Regions from separate parts of the Homo sapiens genome. Here all the other regions are linked to region 6. The links are contacts of gene promoters, found by promoter capture Hi-C in blood cells and fetal thymus (Javierre and others, 2016). All regions are on one chromosome and are shown on one strand. The core of a region is centred on a gene start or on the middle of the fragment in contact, and the rest is flanking DNA. Distances in the headings are between cores, read along the strand shown. Region 1 overlaps GIGYF2 (GRB10 interacting GYF protein 2). Region 2 overlaps GIGYF2 (GRB10 interacting GYF protein 2). Region 3 overlaps NGEF (neuronal guanine nucleotide exchange factor). Region 4 has its middle 1.5 kb from the start of SNORC. Region 5 overlaps NGEF (neuronal guanine nucleotide exchange factor). Region 6 holds the start of SAG (S-antigen visual arrestin). Region 7 has its middle 6.0 kb from the start of NGEF.

Region 1 (2,700 bases), core at 23-2,522, 460 kb before region 6:
AAACATTTTCCTAGGGTGAGCCAAGTCTGAATCTGCTGTGTAATCTCAGTCATGCTGCTTATTTCACAGGACTCTGTGTGGGGGATGAACCACAGTACACTCCATTCAGTATTTCAGACCAATCAAAGCAACAACCAACAATCCAATTTTGAGGCTGTGCAGAGTGGCAAGAAGAAGAAAAAGCAGAAGATGGTCCGAGCAGATCCCAGTTTATTAGGTGAGCACGGTCCTAGTCTCAGCTGAGTGTTGGAGGAGTGCAGGTGATACCAGTTATCCTGTGTGAGTTTCCATTGAGCATTGTTTTTCAAGAAGGGAAATATTTCTTTTTATCAATAACTAATGTTTTAACTGGTTCAAAATAAGTAGCCAGTATTTACTGGGCGTCTCAGTGCAGGACCTGTGCCTCATGTAATAACAACTTATATTGTATGGTGCTTTAAAGTATTGTTTGGTGCTTTAAAGTATTGTTTGATATTTAATATGAATTTCCCTGGAGGATCCTGAGTAATTTAGTTGGAAAATGATGCTAATAATGAACGATACTAAAAGTATGTTAAAAACTTAAATGCTTATTTGTATTGAAAGCAGACCATTAATCCGATCAGGTGTTCCAAGAAGAGAACCAGTATATGTTCATAATCACTCTATGTATCATATAATTCTCAGAATTACTTTGCATTATGAGGTGACATACCAGTTTCACCAATAATGAGTAGACCAAGGCACAGAGATTGAGAACATTTCCCAGTGTTACATAGCTTTCTGCTATGGGATGCTGGGATTTCAAGGCAGGCCTGTTTTCTTTCCACCCTTCTGTGTTACCCACGGCTATTTTTATCTAGCATTATGGACCATGCAAGGCAGGCTGGGCACGGTGGCTCACTTTGGGAAGCTGAGGTAGGTGGGTCACTTGAGGCCAGGAGTTTGAGACCAGCTGGGGTAACGTAGCGAGACCATATCTCTAAAAAAAATTTTAAAAACAGGCATGGTGGTGCCCACCTATAGTCCCAGCTACTTGGGAGAATGAGGCAGGGGGATTCCTTGACCAGGAGTTGAAGGCTGCAGTGAGCTGTGATCATGCCACTGCACTCTAGCTTCTCTGAAAAGGTGACATCTGAATTTGGGCTTTGAAAGAATGGCAGAAAGGATGGGGAATATTGTTTCAGGAATAACAAACAGTATAGGCTGCCCATGTTTTTTGCAACAGTGATGAAACTAACATTTTTTTTTTCTTTTTCTTTTTCTTTGAGATGGAGTCTCACTCTTGCTCAGGCTGGAGTGCAGTGGCGTGATCTCAGCTCACTGCAACCTCTGCCTCCCGGGTTCAAGCGATTCTCTTGCCTCAGCCTCCTGAGTAGCTGAGACTACAGGCACATGCCGCCACACCTGGCTAATTTTTGTATTTTTAGTAGAGAGGGGTTTTTGCCATGTTGGCCAGGCTGGTCTTGAACTCCTGACTTCAGGTGATCTTCTTGCCTTGGCCTCCCAAAGTGCTGGGATTACAGGTGTGAACCGCCACGCCCGGCCCTAAAATTATTTTCTATTTGTGAATGTAAAATTAGTGGCTATAAAACCATGTTGTCTGCAATAGAATACATTCGCAAGGATGGAAGTTCCGGTTGTTGTCCTGTCAGGAGGGCAGAACAGTGAGGAGGCTGCAGTATAGACTAGGTAAAAGATACCAGTGACTTGGAATAGGGTTTTGGTAGTGGGGATGAAAAGGAGTTAGATGGATTTCAGAAATGTAGGGGATAGAATTAACTGGACAAGAAGAGTGGAAAGGTCTCAGGCTTGGGGACCAGGATGGATGGATGGTGTTGCCATTTGCTGTGAAATGATAAGCAGTGGAACATGGCACAGGCTGAGGGGAATTGAGTGTTGACTGGGTTGAGTTTGAAATGTCTGTGGGACATCATGAAGAGCGTGAGACCCCGCACAGTGAGAGGCAGGTGGTAACCTTACTGTACCCTTGGTAGGATTCTCTCTTTCCCTCAGAGCCTTCCAGCCCTGGTGAAAACAACATGACAGTAAAACCTAACTTTTAGGACTGTCCTTTAGAATTGGTGCCTGAAGCCAGACGCGGTGACTCACGCCTGTAATCCCAGATCTTTGGGAGGCTGAGGCGGGTGGATCGCTTGAGGTCAGGAGTTGGAGACCAGCCTGGCCAACATGGTGAAACCTCGTCTCTAGTAAAAATACAAAATTAGCTGGGCGTGGTGGTGGGTGCCTATAATCCCAGCTACTCGGGAAGCTGAGGCAGGAGAATCACTTGAGCAGCCTAGGAGGCGGAGGTTGCAGTGAGCTGAGATCACGCCACTGCACTCCAGCCTGTGCGACAGAGTGAGACTCCGTCTCAAAAAAATAATAATTTAAAATAATAATGTTTAAAATATTATTTAAAAATAATAATAACAAAGAATTGGTGCCTGAAAGCTGGGTTTGGGAACTTGTAGATCTGGTGCAATTCTGTTTTCCTCTGCTTGTCTCAAAAGTTGATAAGGATGGATGGAGCAGCCTGAAATTTTTTCCAATTTGGATGAAATTGGTGAATAGATTTTAAAACATTCCTTAAATTCTAACTGTGGGTTCTAGCTAAGAAGCTTTGGGACTTGAGGATAGGCTGTTAGGGAAAAGGTTGCTCTGAAAATGAGGTCAGACCGTTTGGACTTAAATATTCCCTTGGATCTCATCTTCTATTTA
Region 2 (2,744 bases), core at 229-2,728, 480 kb before region 6:
CTTACTTTTAGTTTGGATTCCTTATATTCTCAGTACATGTCCTTTGTTAGATAAATGTTGTGCATACTTTCCTCCAGGCTATAGCATGTCTATTTATTTTCCTAGGGGGATCTTTTGATAAGCAGAGATTTTTAATTTTGATGAAATCCTATTAAATTTGTCTTTTATTAGTGTTTTTTTGTTTCTATGTAAGAAATACTTGCCAACCTACAGATTATTAAAATATCTCCTGTATTTTTTTTAAAGCTTTATAGTTTTCGTTTTACAAATAGTTTGAATTGTTTTTTCTGTATGATATGAGGTATGGGTTGTTCCAGTGCCTGTTTTTGCAAAGTCTTTACTTTTTCTATTGAATTTTTGATGCTTTTGTCAAAGTCAATTGTATAAATATTTTTTTTTTTTTTTTTACTGGACTCTTCCCTTTTCTTCCATTGATAAGTTTGCCTGTCCTTAAATGAGTACACACTGATTTGATTACTACTGTACCTTTATAGTAACAGAAGTAAGTCAGTATGTCTTCCAGCTTTGCCTTTTTATTCAAGACTGCTTGACTAAGATCTTTTGCCTTCCTATTAAAATTTAAAATTATCTTCTTAATTTCTATATAAGTAAAAGCCTCCTGTGGTTATGATATGGATTGTGTGGAATCTAAATTGAAGAGAATTCACATTTTAAGATATACTGAGGCTTCCAGGCAATGAACATGGTATAACTTTCCATTTGTTTATGTTTTCCTTGTTTTTTCTCAGTACCATTTTGTTTTCGTTATACAGGTTATGTACATCTTTAAAAAACTGATTTTTTTCTTTTTTGCTATTATGAGTGGAATTTTAAAAGTTTATTTTCCAGCAGGCTGGGTGCAGTGGCTCATGCCTGTAATCTCAGCACTTTGGGAGGCCAAGGCGGGCAGATCACGAAGTCAGGAGTTCGAGACCAGCCTGGCCAACAGGGTGAAACCCTGTGTCTACTAAAAATACAAAAATTAGCTGGGCGTGGTGGCGTGCGCCTGTAATCCCAGTTACTTGGGTGGCTGAGGCAGGAGAACTGCTTGAACGCGGGAGGCGGAGGTTGCAGTGACCCGAGGCACCCCTGCATTCCAGCCTGGGCGACAGGGCAAGACTCTGTCTCGGAGGGGGAAAAGCTGTTTATTTTCCAGTTCTATGGAATTGGAATTGCCAGTTCTATAGAAATGGAATTGATTGGTTTTCATATATAGATCTTATATTCTGACACCTTGTGAAACTCAACTTAGTACCTCCAATAGTATTTTTGTTGATTCCTTAGGATTTTCTATGGAATCTTATTGATAAATAGGAGCAGTTTTAATTCTTCCTTTCCAACCTTGGATAGAAGTGGTTAAAATGTATAATAGCCTTATTTCCAGTATTGGGGTGAAAATGTCCGGTATTTCACCATTAAATATATTGATAGTTTTTCATAGGTATCCATTATCCAGCTGAAGAAGTTTCTTTCCAGTCCTAGTTTACTGAAAGTTTTTCAATGAATAGATACTGAGGTTGTAAAATGCTTTATCTGCATTGATTGATGATCATTTAGTTTTTTCATTCTGCTTATATGGTGAATTATTAATATTAATATTAATAACTGAGTTATTAATAACTGAGGTTTGAAGGTTAAGTCAACTTTGTGTTCCTGGATTACCACCCTACTTGATACATATGTTAACCTAATTTGGTACTGTTTTGTTAAGAATATTTGCATCTAATTTGGTACTGTTTTGTTAAGAATATTTGCATCTGTGTTCATGAGGGAGAGATAGGTCTACAATTTTCTTTCTCTTTTTCCTTTCTTTCTTTCTTTTTTTTTTTTTTTATTGAGATGGTCTCACACTGTCACCCAGGCTGCAGTCTTGGCTCACTACAGCCTCAACCTACCATGCTCAGTCAAGCCTCCCACCTCAGCCACCTCAGTAGCTTGGGCCACATGCTCATGCCACCACTCCTGGCTAATTTTTTTATTTTTTGTAGAGATATGGGGTCTTGCTGTGTTGCTCAGGCTGGTCTTGAATTCCTGGACTCAAGCAGTTTTCTTGTCTCAGCCTCCCAAAGTGGTGGGATTACAGGAGTGAGCCACCGCAACCTGACCTGTAATTTTCTTGTAATGCTTTTGTCCCCTTTTGGTGTTAGGTTTATACTGGCCTCTTAAATTGGAATGTGATACTTTCATTGTTTTCCGAAAAAGTTTGTGTAAGATTGGAATTATTTCTTCATTGAATAGAGGCATACCTCATTTTATTGTGCTTCACTTTCTTGTGCTTTGCACGTATTTCATTTTTTACGAATTGAAGGGCTTGTGGCAGCCCTGCATCGACCAAGTCTGTTGGCCAGCAGCATGTGCTCACTTTGTCTCTGTGTCACACTTCGGTAATTCTTGCAATGTTTCAGATTTTTTTTACTGTTATATCTGTTACGGTGATCTGTAATAAGTGATTTTTGATGTCACTATTGAAATTGTTGTGGAGTGCCGTGAACTGTGCCCATGTAAGGCAGCAAACTTAATCCATACCTATAGTGCATGTTCTGACTATTGACTGGCTATTCCCTGTCTCTCTTCCTCTCCTTCGACCTCCCTATTCGCTGAGACACATCATTATGGAAATTAGGCCAATTGGATAACCTACAATGGCCTCTAAGGGTTCAAGTGAAAGGAAGAGTCATGTCTCACACTTTAAATTGAATGCTAGAAATGATTAAGCTTAGTGAGGAAGGCATGTCAGAAGCTGA
Region 3 (2,700 bases), core at 40-2,539, 420 kb before region 6:
GGAGGTCTTGGGGCCTGACATCTGCTGCAGCTCACCCTGCTTCAGCAGCCAGCGGGAGTGGGAGATGATGGGCACCGACTGCAGCGGGGAAAGGGCATCAGGCAGGCTGTGCCCACAATGTCCCTCCCCAGGACATGCCCCCAGGGCTGCGTCTGTCACATTCCCTGACACCTGCCCAGGGCCCCGACACATGAGGCACAAGTTGGGGGGAAAGGCCGAGTTCTGGACGGATGCAGAGAGATGGCAGGGCTGTGTGTGTGTGTGTGAACATGCACCCCTGTGGGCATGAGTGTGCTATGCGTGTGTGTGCTGTGCATGTGGACTTCTATGTGTATGGACTGTGTTGTGTACCCACATGTGAGCTTAAAGTTATGTGCACGTGCTTGTGTGCATGTACACTGCTGTTTACATGTGTGCACTGCTGTGTGGATACCGTGTGTGTGCCTGTGAGTGTGGCAGCTAGTGTCTGTCATCATTGCCCCCACCAAGCTCTGCCTGTGGGATGCAGAATCAGAGAAGGGGCTGAGTTCACAGTAGAGAGGAAAGAATGGGACCCGCGGGGCAAGGAGGCCAGGCCTGCAGCTGAACGGCCGCCTGGCAGACGATGCAACTCAGGGGCAGGCGCCTGGCAGCCATCGGTCAGCACCGTGTGGAGCTACATGGGACGCCCAGAAGACCGCCTCTGCCTCCTCTAGTGGGGCTCAGCTCCCAAACCAAGCCTGGCCTCAGGGACCGTCTGTGGGCACAGCGTGCTGATGTGGCCAAGTTCCCAGAAAGTCGGGCCCAGGGGACCTGAGGGTTCACGAATGCCTGAAGTTTTCTGTGAAGTTTGGGGGAAGCTGGTAACTTCCAAATCCTCCTGGTTTGAGAATCCCTGGAGCAGCACCCCCCACATCCTCCATGTAAACTGACTGCTCAAGGCCACGCAGCGGGCAGGTGAGAGCAGGGTCCACACCCTGCGTGGGTCTGGGCCGCACACTAGCCCCGCACTCCCGTCTCCCAGGAGACAGATCCGGACCACCGTGGTGGTGTCTGACGCCTGGTGGCAGGCGGGGTGGCTTCAGCTGGGGAGGTCAGGGGGCAGAGGGGATCCTAAGTGTGGCCAGTGACCAAGGACCTAAGCAAGGCCAGCCAGGCGCGGTGATCTGTGCCTCTGGGGCGGGGCCAGGGGCCTGTGCATGGGCACAGGCTCACACCAATCCCACCGGTTCACCTTGATCTTGAACTCCATCTTCTTCTGAATGCTGATCATCTGTTCCGTGCGGCTCATTTTCCTGACGCCCTCGTTGCATGCCTTCACCACCTGGGACAAGAAGGAGGGCACATCAGGCCACCAAAGCCGGCTGTCCCGGCCCCTTCCTCCAGCTCGGTCAGGCCACAGACAGGGCTGAGTGACCACCGTGACCAGACACTGTGCCCACAGCTGAGGCTGGCTGGCCAGTCTCAGTCGGACTGGAGCTCCTCTTTCTAGCACCTTGTGGGGCAAAGGCAAGTGGGAAAACCTGTTAGTTTGGGTGGAGAAAGTTGGTGCCTTGCCCTTGCTAGGAAGCAAACTCCAGAAAACACATGCGTGAGGCATCCCTCCTCCTCTGTAGGCTGGACGGACCGGCAGGGCTCCGGGCTGTTCTCCCCACAGCCCCCTGGGTGGCCACCCAGGCACCAAGGGACCTAAAAATCCCACGCTTCCTGGGGCTCCCGAGGACTCGTTCTGAAGGAAGACAATTCTGCAGTGACACATGGGGCCCGGCACAGGGCCAGGCTCGCCGCAGGCTCTCAGGGCACATAAATGAGCACCATGTCCAGGGAAGTGTGCGCGAGGGCCTCCCTGCCATGTTGTCTGGAGTGAGAAACACGCTCGCCAGCCTCAACAGCCATCAGTGGATTCGATTAAAATAGTTATGATCTATGCAGATACGCAAGAACAGAAATCCAGGAAAGAGGCAGGGACTCCACCTGCACTCGAATGCGGGGCAAAGCTGTTTCTAAACCACAAGCCCTTTTTGTAAAGAATACAGTGGTGTGTGTGCTGTGTGTGCCATGTGTGCATGTGTGTGCTGTGTATATGCAGTGTGTGCTGTGTATGCATGTGCGGTGTGTACTGTGTGTGATATGTATGTGCCATGTGTGCTGTGTGTGCTATGCATACTGTGTGTGATAAGTATGTGCTGTGTGTGTGTGCAGTGTGTATTGTGTGATATGTAGGGGCCGTGTATGTGTGTGTGCGTGCTGTGTGTACTGTGTGTGGTATGTGCTGTGTGTGTGTGCAGTGTGTACTGTGTGATGAGGGGCCATGTGTGTGCGGTGTGTATTGTGTGTGATATGTATGGGCGTGTATGTGCTGTGCGTGTGCCGTGTGTGCAGTGTGTGCCCTGCGAGTGTGCTGTGCACAGGTGTGTGTGCACAGGCGTCTGTTTAGGGCGAGCTGCAGCCTGTCGGCAGGGAGGGCGAGGTGGCTAGTGAAGTTTATTTTCTTTTTACTTACAAGCATTTTCTGAGTTTCCTGGTATTGAGTATAATTACTTTCATAAATCAGAGAAAAAATAAACCTTCATTTTTAAAAAAAAAAGCTATTAGAAACAGAGAATACCTTTCATTATAAGAAAAATGAAGATGAAAGCAGAAAAGAACTTTAAAAACAGAAAACATACCCCTGGCCCAGGGCTGACCTCAGGGAGAGCCTTCTGGGGCACGTGGGCCCCT
Region 4 (2,814 bases), core at 71-2,570, 440 kb before region 6:
ACTAGAGTTCTATATGTGTTAGCTCTAACTAGAGACAAGTTTTCCAAGTAGAGTTCTATACTTGCTTAAAGACACTCCAACATTATAAAAATACATATGTATAGTATTATTCATTGCAGCTATCTGTAATTTTAGACTTTTTGTCTGGTCTAAGTATTTTTTTCTACCTTTAGCATGGTTATAATAATCATTTGAAATACAATTCATTGTCTTGAAATTCTTAATTTTATCTTTGAAATTTGAGTTTTATAAGTAAAGTCTGATGGAATAGTGGAGCACGCAGCAGCAGCTTGCAGCCTTGGCTCACGCCTGCCTCGTCCTGCCTCCCCAGGGTGGGTTCTCAGCCCACTGCTGCCCCTGGGCAGCCTGCCTCCCTCCCTATCATCCATATGTCACTTGACTTCCATACACTTTCACTTTGGTAAACACAGTGACATTTTGAATATCCAAAGATGAGTGTCAGCAAAAAGCCAAAGTCTAGTGATCCCTGAAATACAAATGCATCTCCTTTCCGCCAGTGCCCAGCTATTCTGGTCCACGACTGCCTAAACCTTTGAGGAAGATTTGGAAGAAGATTCATTGTCTGTACTTGTGGCCATCTTGCAGGGTCCTTCCTTAAAGATAAATTGCCTCCCTCTCTATCAAGAGATTTTGGTTCTGGGAACCAAGTGAGAACCTTGATGCTCCATTATAGTAAATACAGATTTCTGCTCACCTGTTCATTTTTGTATATCAAGTAATACATTAGTAGACTGGCTGGCTGTTTTATTCCTAGGGATCAAAACATTCTGATGGGTCATTTCATCTTTTTTTTTTTTTTTTTTGAGATGCATCCTCCACCTCCCAAGCTCAAGCAATTCTTGTGCCTCAGCCTTCCAAGTAGCTGGGACTACAGGTGTGCACCACCATGCCTGGCTAATTTTCATATTTTTATTGGAGATGGGTTTTCGCCATGTTGGTCAGGCTGGTCTTGAACTCCTGACCTCAAGTGATCCGCCTGCCCCAGCCTCCCAAAGTGCTGGGATTACAGGCGGGAGCCACCGCACCTGGCCAGGTCATTTCATCTTCACCATCCATGGCAGGGTTGGCGTCCACCCGGCCTCTGCTGCCGCTTGGCCTCTGCTACTTTAGAATCACATTATTTCCTCTGAAATCAGTGATCCCATCATCAACTCTGGCCTACAAAAAACAGCCACAACCTATCTTTTTAAAGTTGCCGGTCTTCACTAATGCATCTCGCAGTGTCTTGGTGAATAGTGTGTACTATGGGACCTACTGAGAACTTAGTGTGGTCGCCAAAGATAAATCCACCCCAACATTCCTTTCTTACTAAGCCATTGGTATCCCCTTCTTCATTAAGTTAGGCTTCTCAATCTCATAGCATCCAGGCTTTTACTGAGCCTAGGTTTTGGTCAGCCAGCCAAACAGAGCTGCTCCTAGATGCTTAGGTTGAAACATTAAATTCAGACTTCACTAAGCACACCCCTGTCTAGAATGTGGCCGGATCTAATGTCATACTCACATCTTGCCTATTTAGTCTGACACCTTAGAATTCATTCCCACACCATGTTTCTATTAATATAAATTAGCAAAATTCGTATCTTACTAACTTGATACTAATTTATTGCTAGCATAAATTAACAGTAGTTTTTAGTTTGTGCTTATTTCCTCCTAAGTCAGACTTTGTGCTTGCTCTCCCTAGGAATGCTGATACCTGATTCTAGTTATGGATATGGAGGCAAGGAGAAGTTGTTAGGGTAGGTACAAGGTAATTTCATATAAATACGCATGCTAAAAAGAAATTTGAAGTGATGGGGGGATTGAGGGGCTGACTTATCAAGCTGAGGCTTGAATGGAAGGGGTGGCCACATAATCACCACAGGACTGCCTTCTGGGAGGAGAGGGGAACATGCAAAGGCCTGAGGCAGGATCTGGGGGTTTGTTGGGGGAGCCTAGTCACGGCCAGTGGACTGAAACATAGAGCTCGTGGGTGGGAAGCTGAGCAGGGCCGAGGCAAGCCCTTAGCGCGGTGGGAAACCATCAAGGTGTGAAGTAGGGGGCGCTGACAGAACTCTGAGGGCTCAGACGTGGGAAGTGAGGGAAAGAGACACCTTTGATGACTTCATTGTGTGGCTAGAACATCTGGGAGCGGGGAACTGGGATTCCACTGACTGAGTGAGGGAAGGGGCAGTAGAGTCAAGGTTTGCTTTGGACACTGTAAGTTGTAGCCGCTCGTGAGATACCCTGCGGGGCTGTTGAGAAGCAGTGGGCAGTGGGGCTAAGTTCTGAGCCAGGCCCAGCCTGGAAATGGATGTCATAAGTGCACAGGGGTCTAGGGAGGCAGAGAGCGAAAGAGGAAACAGGAGCGTTTTAGGAAAGACTAGAGCTGCCTGAGGGTTTGGATCAAAACTGCTTTAAAAGTCCTTCTTCAACAAGCACTGAGCACCTACTCCGGGCCAGGCATGGAGAACCCAGAGGTGAGCAGAGTCCGTCCTGCACTCAGTGCTGCCTGCTTCAGGCCAAATTTCCCCAAGCCCAGGCCACAGGCACTAACATGCAGATTCCCTGGGCTACCCAAGCCCCACTGAAACACAGTGGCCAGAGGCAGCAGCATGTTTCAAGTTCCCTGGGTGATTCTTTTGCACAAGAAAGCTTGAAAACCTTTCATTTTCAGTGGTCCAGGAGTAAATGTGGGAGGTGTGTGTGTGTTGCGGGGTGGAGAAAGAGAGAGAGCACAGGCAATTTCCTCTTTCCCTCTCCAAGAGCGGGGCTGCTCCCAGGTTCAGGAAAGCAGGTCTGTTCTGTGAGCTCTTG
Region 5 (2,700 bases), core at 189-2,688, 390 kb before region 6:
GATCAGGAGATTGAGATCATCCTGGCTAACACAGTGAAACCATGTCTCCACTAAAAACACAAAAAATTAGCTGGGCGTGGTGGCACGTGCCTGTAATCCCAGTTACTCGGGAGGCTGAGGCAGGAGAATCACTTGAACCTGGGAGGCAGAGGTTGCAGTGAGCCGAGATCCTGCCACTGCACTCCAGCCTGGGCAACAGAGTGAGACTCCATCTCAAAAAATAAAAGTAAAATAAAATAAAATAATTTTGTGTTTGTACCCTAATTTTCAGATTTGGTTATCAATATTATACTGTGTTCAGATAATTTGTGTATTTCTCTCTTTTCCATGCTTTAGACTAGGGGTCAGCAAACTACAGCCCATGGGCTGGCCACTTGTATTTGTAAATAAAGTTTTACTGGAACACAGCCACACTCATTCCTTTACACAGTGTCTATAGCTGCTGTCACACCACAACGACAGAGCTGGGTAGTTCTGACAGACAGTATGGTCTACAAAGCCTAACACATTTATTATCTGGCCCTTTAACAGAAAGTTTGATGATCTCTGCTCTAGACTTACGCTGATCAACACAGTAGCAACATGTGGCTAAACTGATGTTTGTTTAAACCAGGTGGAATTAAACATTCAGTTTCTTAGTTGCACTGACCAGTTTCAAATGCTCGGTAGCCACACGGAGCTAGTGACTATTGGAGACATGATGTAGAACATTCCATCATTGCCAGGCATGGTGCCTCACACCTGTCTCAGCACTTTGGGAGGCTGAGGCAGGGAGATCACTTGAGCTCAGGAGCTTGAGACCAGCCTGGCCATCATGGTGAAACCCTATCTCTACCAAAAATAGAAAAATTAGCCTTGTGTAGTGGTGTACACCTGTAGTCTCAGCCACTTGGGAGGCTGAGGCACGAGAATTGCTTGAACCCAGGAGGCTAAGGTTACAGCGAACCAAGATTGTGCCACTGCACTCCAGCCTGGGTGACAGAGTGAGACTGTCTCAAAAAATATAATAATAAAATACAAAATAACATTTCTGGCCAGGTGCAGTGGCTCACGCCTGTAATCCCAGCACTTTGGGAGGCTGAGGTGGGTGGATCACGAGGTCAGGAGTTCAAGACCAGCCTGACCAACATGGTGAAACCCTGTCTCTACTAAAAATACAAAAATTACCTGGGCGTGGTGGTGCACGCCTGTAATCCCAGCTACTCGGGAGGCTGAGGCCGAAGAATCGCTTGAGCCTGGGAGGCAGAGGCTGCAGCAAGCCGAGATTGTGCCACTGCTCTCCAGCCTGGGCAACAGAGCAAGACTCCATCTCCAAAAAAAAAAAAAAAAAAGAACATTTTCATCAAGGCAGGGAATTCCACCAGACGGCTCTGCTGCAGGCCAGCCTAAGTAACCCCAGACCCTCCTGGCTCTCCTGGGATTTGAACAGGAGTCCTCTGGGTGCCACATCTTTCCTGTAGGTGATTTTTTGGGGTTACTGGTATATTTTTGTGTATTTAAAATTTTTACTTTTGATTCCATTGGTAGTAGCTTATATTTTCCTAGAAAATCATTCATCTGTTTTTTCTAATCATTCATCTTATCAAGACTTTTGCATAGTATCTTCTTGGATCTCTGTCCTCTCTGTTCTCCTTAGGAGTGTTTGTTGTGTGTTTTCCCCTAATGTCTCAAGCTGGCATCTCAGAAGTTCATTTAATTTTGTATTTATCTCTTTCAATTCTTTCTATTCTTTGGAATTTGGTGTGCATTTTACACACACACTGCATCTCAACTGGATTCATTACATGTCGTGTTCAGCAGCCACGTGTGGCTGGTGGCTGTCAGAGCGGGCAGGGCAGCTCTAGAGAGTATAAAGTTCAGTACAAATCTTTTCATCCAACCTAATTATTTTTTTCTGATTCCCCATCTTCCTGCTGGGTCCCACTCCTGTAGGATAGTGGAGTGCGCATGGCAACGTCTCCTCTTGTTTCTGACAGATTCTGCTCTATTTATTTATTTATTTTTTCTGAGGTGGAGTCTCACTGTTGCCAGGCTGGAGTGCAGTGGCGTGATCTTGGTTCACTGCAACCTCTGCCTCCCAGGTTCAAGCGATTCTCCTGCCTCAGCCTCCCAAGTAGCTGGGACTATAGGCGCACACCACCACGCCCAGCTAATTTTTGTATTTTTAGTAGAGATGGGGTTTCACCATGTTGACCAGGCTGGTCTCGAACTCCCGACCTCAGGTGATCTACCTGCCTTGGCCTCCCAAAATGCTAGGATTACAGGCAAGAGCCTCTGTGCCCTGCCTTCTGCTCTATCTTTTTGTCTAGTTCATAACAGTTCCCAGCCATTACCTTTTCACTGTAAAGTGTACCTCTTGGGAACAGCCTTTCTAATCATAAGACACAACATCCGAAGATTAGGTTTAAATAAATGAAAGTACTGAAAGATTTGCTATCAAAATGGAAAAAGGATTTTTATCCAAAAAGAAGATGCCATGGACCAAGTGAGAGGGCACATAAGCCCTTGATAATGTCAGCTTTTTGCCACGCACTGTCTTCAGCTCCTTATCTGTGTTATTTATTCAATCTGCACAAGCCTGAGAGGTAGGTACTAGGATTTCCATCTTACAGATAAGGCACAGAGAAGTTAAGTAATTTGCCTAAGGTCACACAGCTAAGAAGTAGCGGAGCTGAGAAACCTAGGCAGTTGGGCACCAGT
Region 6 (2,700 bases), core at 16-2,515:
CTCTATCTCGAAAGCAAAAAAAAAAAAGAGTGAAATGCAAGCGTGCCTCCAATCTGGTCCTGGAGGTTGGGGATAGCTCCCCTGAGGAAGTGACTCCTGGTCAAAAATCTGAAAGGCCAAGAAGAGTCAACAAAGTGGAGAGAGGAGAGGCTTGTTCCAGGCAGAAATAATAGTGGGAAGGAGGAAGCGTGGCAGACGGCGTGGAAGGAAAGGCAGGCAGAGGTTCCAGAGGCTGCAAGCTTTTTGCCTGCATTCTAAGAGCAATGGGTGATTGTAAGCGAGGGATGACAGGGCTCAGAAGGTCTCTCTGCCTCTGTGTGGAAAAGGGCTTGGAGGGTAGAAATAAATGTGGTCGGCTGGGTGCGGTGACTCATTCCTGGAATCCCAGCACTTTGGGAGGCCGAGGCAGGTGGATCACCTGAGGTCAGGAGTTCGAGACCAGCCTGGCCAACATAGTAAAACCCTGTCTCTACTAAAAATACAAAATTAGCTCAGTGTGGTGGTAGGCGCCTGTAGTCCCAGCTACTCTGGAGGCTGAGGCAAGAGAATCACTTGAACCTGGGAGGCAGAAGTTTCAGCAAGCTGAGACTGCACCACTGCACTTCAGCCTGGGAGGCAGAAGTTTCAGCAAGCTGAGACTGCACCACTGCACTTCAGCCTGGGAGACAGAGCAAGACTCCATCTCAAAACAAAAAACAAAACAAAAAAAAGAAAAGAAATAGATGTAGTCAGACAGTGGGGAATCACTCCGGTCCTGAGAAGCAAAGGCGGTGCTGGGGATGGGAGGATGCAGACAGGTTCCAGAGACACTGAGGGGATCAACAGGACTCCTGAAGCCATCAATCAGTAGGACCGGGTGGAGGAGAGGGACAGATCCAGCTTGGCTTGCATAACACCAGGTTCATCTTGAGGTTGACATTTCTCCTTGACCTTTTTGTTTAGTCCCCACCCGCAAGGTCGCATTAGCTGCCTGCTGAGTTTAATCAAATCTCTTCCTGTCCTGGCAATGCCCGGGAATGAAGAGATAATCAGTCTATTTCCAGAATCCAAAGAGGTTTAGAAGAAAAAGTAGCTTTCATTTAGCTGTTGGCCCTCCCACCAACCTTCCCCAAGTCAGCTGGGTGACTCATACATCTGTGAGACCCTCCGTATGGAGACCGGGGCGGGGGGTGTTGCTTAATGCTTAGAACTGCTGAAACTACCAGTTCACTGTCTCAGCACTAATCCAACTCTGCTCCTTAAGTGGGATTTGGCTTTTAGACATTGAGACCTGGATGCTGGGCATCCTCGCTAGATCCCCTACAAATTCCCCACATACGTAGGCCAGGAGCCTCAGCGGTGCCCCTTCAGGCTCATCTGGCAAGACGGTACCAGCTTGCTCAGAACAGGGGCTGGCTATTCATCATCTCAGAGCATAGAGACCCTCTCCTTGCCACCCGGCCCTTCCCACCTGGTTGGTGACAAATCACAAGGTATGTGACCACCACAGGCCAAAACCTTATCAGAAACCTGGGGCAGGTGTGGGGAAGAGCAAGGATGGGCGTTTTCCTGCAGACAGTATGTCCCGCCTTCACCTTTTCTGTGTGGTTTCCATAAGACTTGGTTGCTATTTAAGGAGACTTGGAGTGAGCGGGTGCAATGGCTCATGCCTATAGTCCCAGTGACTCAGGAGGCTGAGGCTGGAGGATCACTTGAAGCCAGGAATTCGAGACCAACTTGAGCAATACAGTCAGACCCAGTCTCTACAAAAAAACAAAAATAAAAATAAATTAGCTAGGCATGGTGTCACACACCTGTAGTCCTGGCTACTCAGCTGGCTGAGGCAGGAGGATCACGAGCCCAGGAGTTCGAGGCTGCGGTGAGCTATGATTGTGGCACTGCCCTCCAGCCTGGGCAACAGAACGAGCTCCTATATCTTAAAAAAAAAAAAAACCTCAGAGTATGCTTAATTCTAGACCGCTAAGATGGCCTCTTAATTGTAAAACAGAGTGGCTATCTCTTAGTAGGAATTGCCAAATAGAACTTTTGGGATTTTAATATATTCTTTTTTTTTAAAAAAAGTGATAGGATCTTGCTATGTTGCCCAGGCCAGTCTCCAACTCCTGGTTTCAAATGATCCTCTCGCTTCAGCCTCCCAGAATGTTGAGATGACAGGTGTGAGCCACAGTGCCCGGCCATTAATATCTTCTTGAAAACAGTCTTTGCGAAGTGGTTATGTTGTGGTTTTCAGGAACTTTTCTGATTTATTCGCCATTAGACACAGTCACGATAGAACTTTAAATTCAACCTGGCTAAGTGTGATAACACCAAAGGTTAGTCAGAAAGTAAAACCTCATTGGAATCTAGCTAGACTCCCTGGCAAGGTGTACTGAGAAATGTTTGAAGCTTACCAAGAAAAATAAAATATTGAAAACACCCCAAAGCATGCTGCAGTAAAATACAAACTAAGCAAAGACTCACCGATGAAACTCGGATGTTGAAGCCGGTACAAGGGCATGGTGAGGACGCACAGGATCTCGTGAGTAGGTTTCATAACTAGGATGTTCTTGACTTGATATTTAGGATTGTCTTACCTTTCTCCAACCCTCTAACACCTGACCAACACCCCAAGGTGGTAGAAGTTGCCAGGGACAGATAACATGGCAGCCAGCGGGAAGACCAGCAAGTCCGAACCGAACCATGTTATCTTCAAGAAGATCT
Region 7 (2,700 bases), core at 57-2,556, 290 kb before region 6:
CCAACATAAAGAAATACATCCCACAAAAATGGGAGAGTTGACACATGAGAAAATAGAAACAATAGAACAATATTTAAAAAGACCTTAAAAACTAAGTATGCGTTTCATTTCAGAAGTGGGTGTGTGACATAATTACCTTCTTGGGATTTCAAAGTACAACCATTAAGACTCTCCTGGCCTCAGTCAGATGATAACAAGTTTTAGCAAACTTGGCATTCATAAGTACTTGACCTTGGATGGAGGAAAAGGTTAGAAATGTTTGTGTGTGAAGAAGGTAAGTGTATTAGTTTGCTAGGGCTGCTATAACTAATTACCACAGACTGGGAGTCTTAAGCAACAGAAACTTCTTACAGTTCTGGAGGCTGAAAGTTCAAGATCAAGGTATCAGCAGATTTGTTTTTCAGAGACCTCTCTCCTTGGCTTGCACGTGGTGGCTTTCTCTCTGTGTTCTGTCTTTCCTCTGTGTGTGCACACGCTTTTGTGTCCTAATTTTCTCTTCTTATAAGGACACCAATCTTATTGGATTAGGGCCCACCCGTATGACCACATTTTACTTTAATTACCTCTTTAAAGGCCCCATTGGCCAGGCACAGTGCCTCACGCTTGTAATCCCAGAACTTTGGGAGGCTGAGGCAGGTGGATCACCTGAGGTCAGGAGTTCGAGACCAGCCTTACCAACATGATGAAACCCCGTCTCTACTAAAAATACAAAATTAGCTGGATGTGGTGGCACACATCTGTAATCCCAGCTACTCAGGAGGCTGAGGCTGGGGCAATTGCTTGAAACTGGGAGGTGGAGGTTGCAGTGAGCCAAGATTGCATCATTGCACTCCAGCCTATGCAACAGAGTGAGACTCCATCTCTAAATAAATAAATAAATAAATAAGGCTCTATCTTCAAATATAGTCACATTCTGAAGTACTGGGGGTGAAGATTTCAACGTATGAATTTTGAGATTACACAATTTAGCCCATAACAGCTCAAATGCCTTTGTTTCTGCTTTTAAATCTCAATCAACAAATCACTAATTGTGTGACCTTGGAATAGTCACATAATCACATTTTGCCTCATTTTCTGCTTTGCAAAATTGGGGTGATAAACAGCACCTGTTTCATAGAGTTGCTGTTAGAATTAAATAAATTAATGTATGTAAAACTGTTAGAAATAAATACACTTAAAGTGCTTAATGAGATAAAGGAATACAATCTATCAAATAAGAAAAGAAAATTATTATTTTTTAAGGTAGAAGTTGTAGAAATAAAAAATATTGATGTAGGCCGGGCACAGTGGCTCATGCCTGCAATCCTAGCACTTTTGGAGGCCAAGGCAGGTGGATCACTTGAGGTCAGGAGTTTAAAACCAGCCTGGCCAACATGGTGAAACCCTGTCTCTACTAAATATATAAAAAAATTAGCTGGGCCTGGTGGCGGGTGCCTGTAATCCCAGCTACTTGGGAGGCTGAGGCAGGAGAATCGCTTGAACCCAGGAGGCGGAGGTTGCAGTGAGCCAAGATTGTGCCACTGCACTCCAGCCTGGGTGACAGAGTGAGACTCCATCTCAAATATACATATAAAATATTAAATAGAGATGACTTTAGATTTAGTGAGATTTAAAGGGAATGCTTCCAGTTTTTGCCCATTCAGTGTGATACTGGCTGTGGGTTTGTCATAAATAGCTCTTATTATTTTGAGATACGTCCCATCATGCACACGTATGTTTATTGTGGCACTATTCACAATAGCAAAGACTTGGAACCAACCCAAATGTCCATCAATGATAGACTGGATTAAGAAAATGTGGCACATATACACCATGGAATACTATGCAGCCATAAAAAAGGATGAGTTCATGTCCTTTGTAGGGACATGGATAAAGCTGGAAACCATCATTCTCAGCAAACTATCACAAGGGCAAAAAACCAAACACTGCATGTTCTCACTCATAGGTGGGAATTGAACAATGAGAACACTTGGACACAGGAAGAGGAACATCACACACCGGGGCCTGTCGTGGGGTAGGGGGAGTGGGGAGGGATAGCATTAGGAGATACACTTAATGTAAATGACAAGTTAATGGGTGCAGCACACCAACATGGCACATGTATACATATGTAACAAACCTGCAGGTTGTGCACATGTACCCTAGAACTTAAAGTATAATAATAATAATAAAAAAGATTTAGTGAGATTTAGTGATTTGGAAGAGATATCTGAGAAAATTACCCAGAATGAAGCACCAGCAGGTAAAGACATGGAAAATATGAAAGAAGCAAAAACAAAATCTACAGAATAAATTTTAAAAACTCAAGGAGGAGAGGTTACATTCAAAGAAATAATGACTGAGGATTTTTCTAGGTTTGGAGAAAGACCTGAATTCTGGGTTGAAAAACTGTGCTGAGTCCTAGGCTGGGTGAATGAAAGTGAATTCACACCTGAACAGCCCATAATGGAACTGCAGAACATCAAGGAGAAAGAAAAAATCATAAAAGCCATCAAAAAGAAAACAGATTAAAGTAATGACGATCCTGGAAAGCCAGGCACCATCCCCTGACCACAGGGATTTTTCTCCACACCTCTCCCCTCCCTTCCTCAGAATCCAACAGAGCACCCACTGTGTGCTGGGCCCTGTGCTCTCCACTGAAATGTTCTCCTCTGCTTCTTACATTTCACTTTTCTTCCTGGTCTAGCCCAGGTCTTACCT

Evidence for each region. The method cuts DNA at HindIII sites, captures the fragments that hold promoters and counts their contacts. A CHiCAGO score of 5 or more calls a contact.
Region 1: a contact is called between a fragment that was not itself captured here and the fragment with the promoter of SAG in region 6, in 4 of 17 cell types (naive CD8 T cells, total CD4 T cells, erythroblasts and 1 more). The highest score is 7.7, in naive CD8 T cells.
Region 2: a contact is called between a fragment that was not itself captured here and the fragment with the promoter of SAG in region 6, in 1 of 17 cell types (M1 macrophages). The highest score is 5.1, in M1 macrophages.
Region 3: a contact is called between a fragment that was not itself captured here and the fragment with the promoter of SAG in region 6, in 1 of 17 cell types (erythroblasts). The highest score is 5.1, in erythroblasts.
Region 4: a fragment that was not itself captured here is called in contact with the fragment with the promoter of SAG in region 6 in 5 of 17 cell types (monocytes, neutrophils, M2 macrophages and 2 more); the score reaches 5.6 in monocytes.
Region 5: a contact is called between a fragment that was not itself captured here and the fragment with the promoter of SAG in region 6, in 1 of 17 cell types (erythroblasts). The highest score is 6.2, in erythroblasts.
Region 7: a fragment that was not itself captured here is called in contact with the fragment with the promoter of SAG in region 6 in 1 of 17 cell types (erythroblasts); the score reaches 5.6 in erythroblasts.

The regions. Positions count from the first base shown.
Region 1 is chr2:232,850,193-232,852,892 of GRCh38, forward strand. GIGYF2 (GRB10 interacting GYF protein 2) reads left to right here. Exons shown (of 29, transcript NM_001103146.3): 28 at 70-217. Among named protein-coding and RNA genes, the nearest start is that of SNORC, 19 kb to the right of the region's middle. The HindIII fragment of the contact is 2,651 bases long and covers 1-2,598 here.
Region 2 is chr2:232,821,550-232,824,293 of GRCh38, forward strand. All of the region lies in intron 21 of GIGYF2 (GRB10 interacting GYF protein 2), which reads left to right. Among named protein-coding and RNA genes, the nearest start is that of KCNJ13, 46 kb to the left of the region's middle. The HindIII fragment of the contact is 2,469 bases long and covers 245-2,713 here.
Region 3 is chr2:232,884,067-232,886,766 of GRCh38, forward strand. NGEF (neuronal guanine nucleotide exchange factor) reads right to left here. Exons shown (of 15, transcript NM_019850.3): 10 at 1,214-1,303; 11 at 1-78. Among named protein-coding and RNA genes, the nearest start is that of SNORC, 15 kb to the left of the region's middle. The HindIII fragment of the contact is 3,527 bases long and covers 1-2,700 here.
Region 4 is chr2:232,867,345-232,870,158 of GRCh38, forward strand. It overlaps a transcript of SNORC not described here. Among named protein-coding and RNA genes, the nearest start is that of SNORC, 1.5 kb to the right of the region's middle. The HindIII fragment of the contact is 2,660 bases long and covers 1-2,650 here.
Region 5 is chr2:232,913,705-232,916,404 of GRCh38, forward strand. The region is part of intron 5 of NGEF (neuronal guanine nucleotide exchange factor); the gene reads right to left. Among named protein-coding and RNA genes, the nearest start is that of SNORC, 45 kb to the left of the region's middle. The HindIII fragment of the contact is 4,119 bases long and covers 1-2,700 here.
Region 6 is chr2:233,306,551-233,309,250 of GRCh38, forward strand. It overlaps SAG (S-antigen visual arrestin), which reads left to right and starts at 1,266. Exons shown (of 16, transcript NM_000541.5): 1 at 1,266-1,472; 2 at 2,612-2,700. The coding sequence starts at 2,640. The HindIII fragment of the contact is 2,146 bases long and covers 238-2,383 here.
Region 7 is chr2:233,017,949-233,020,648 of GRCh38, forward strand. No RefSeq gene overlaps it. Among named protein-coding and RNA genes, the nearest start is that of NGEF, 6.0 kb to the left of the region's middle. The HindIII fragment of the contact is 3,372 bases long and covers 1-2,700 here.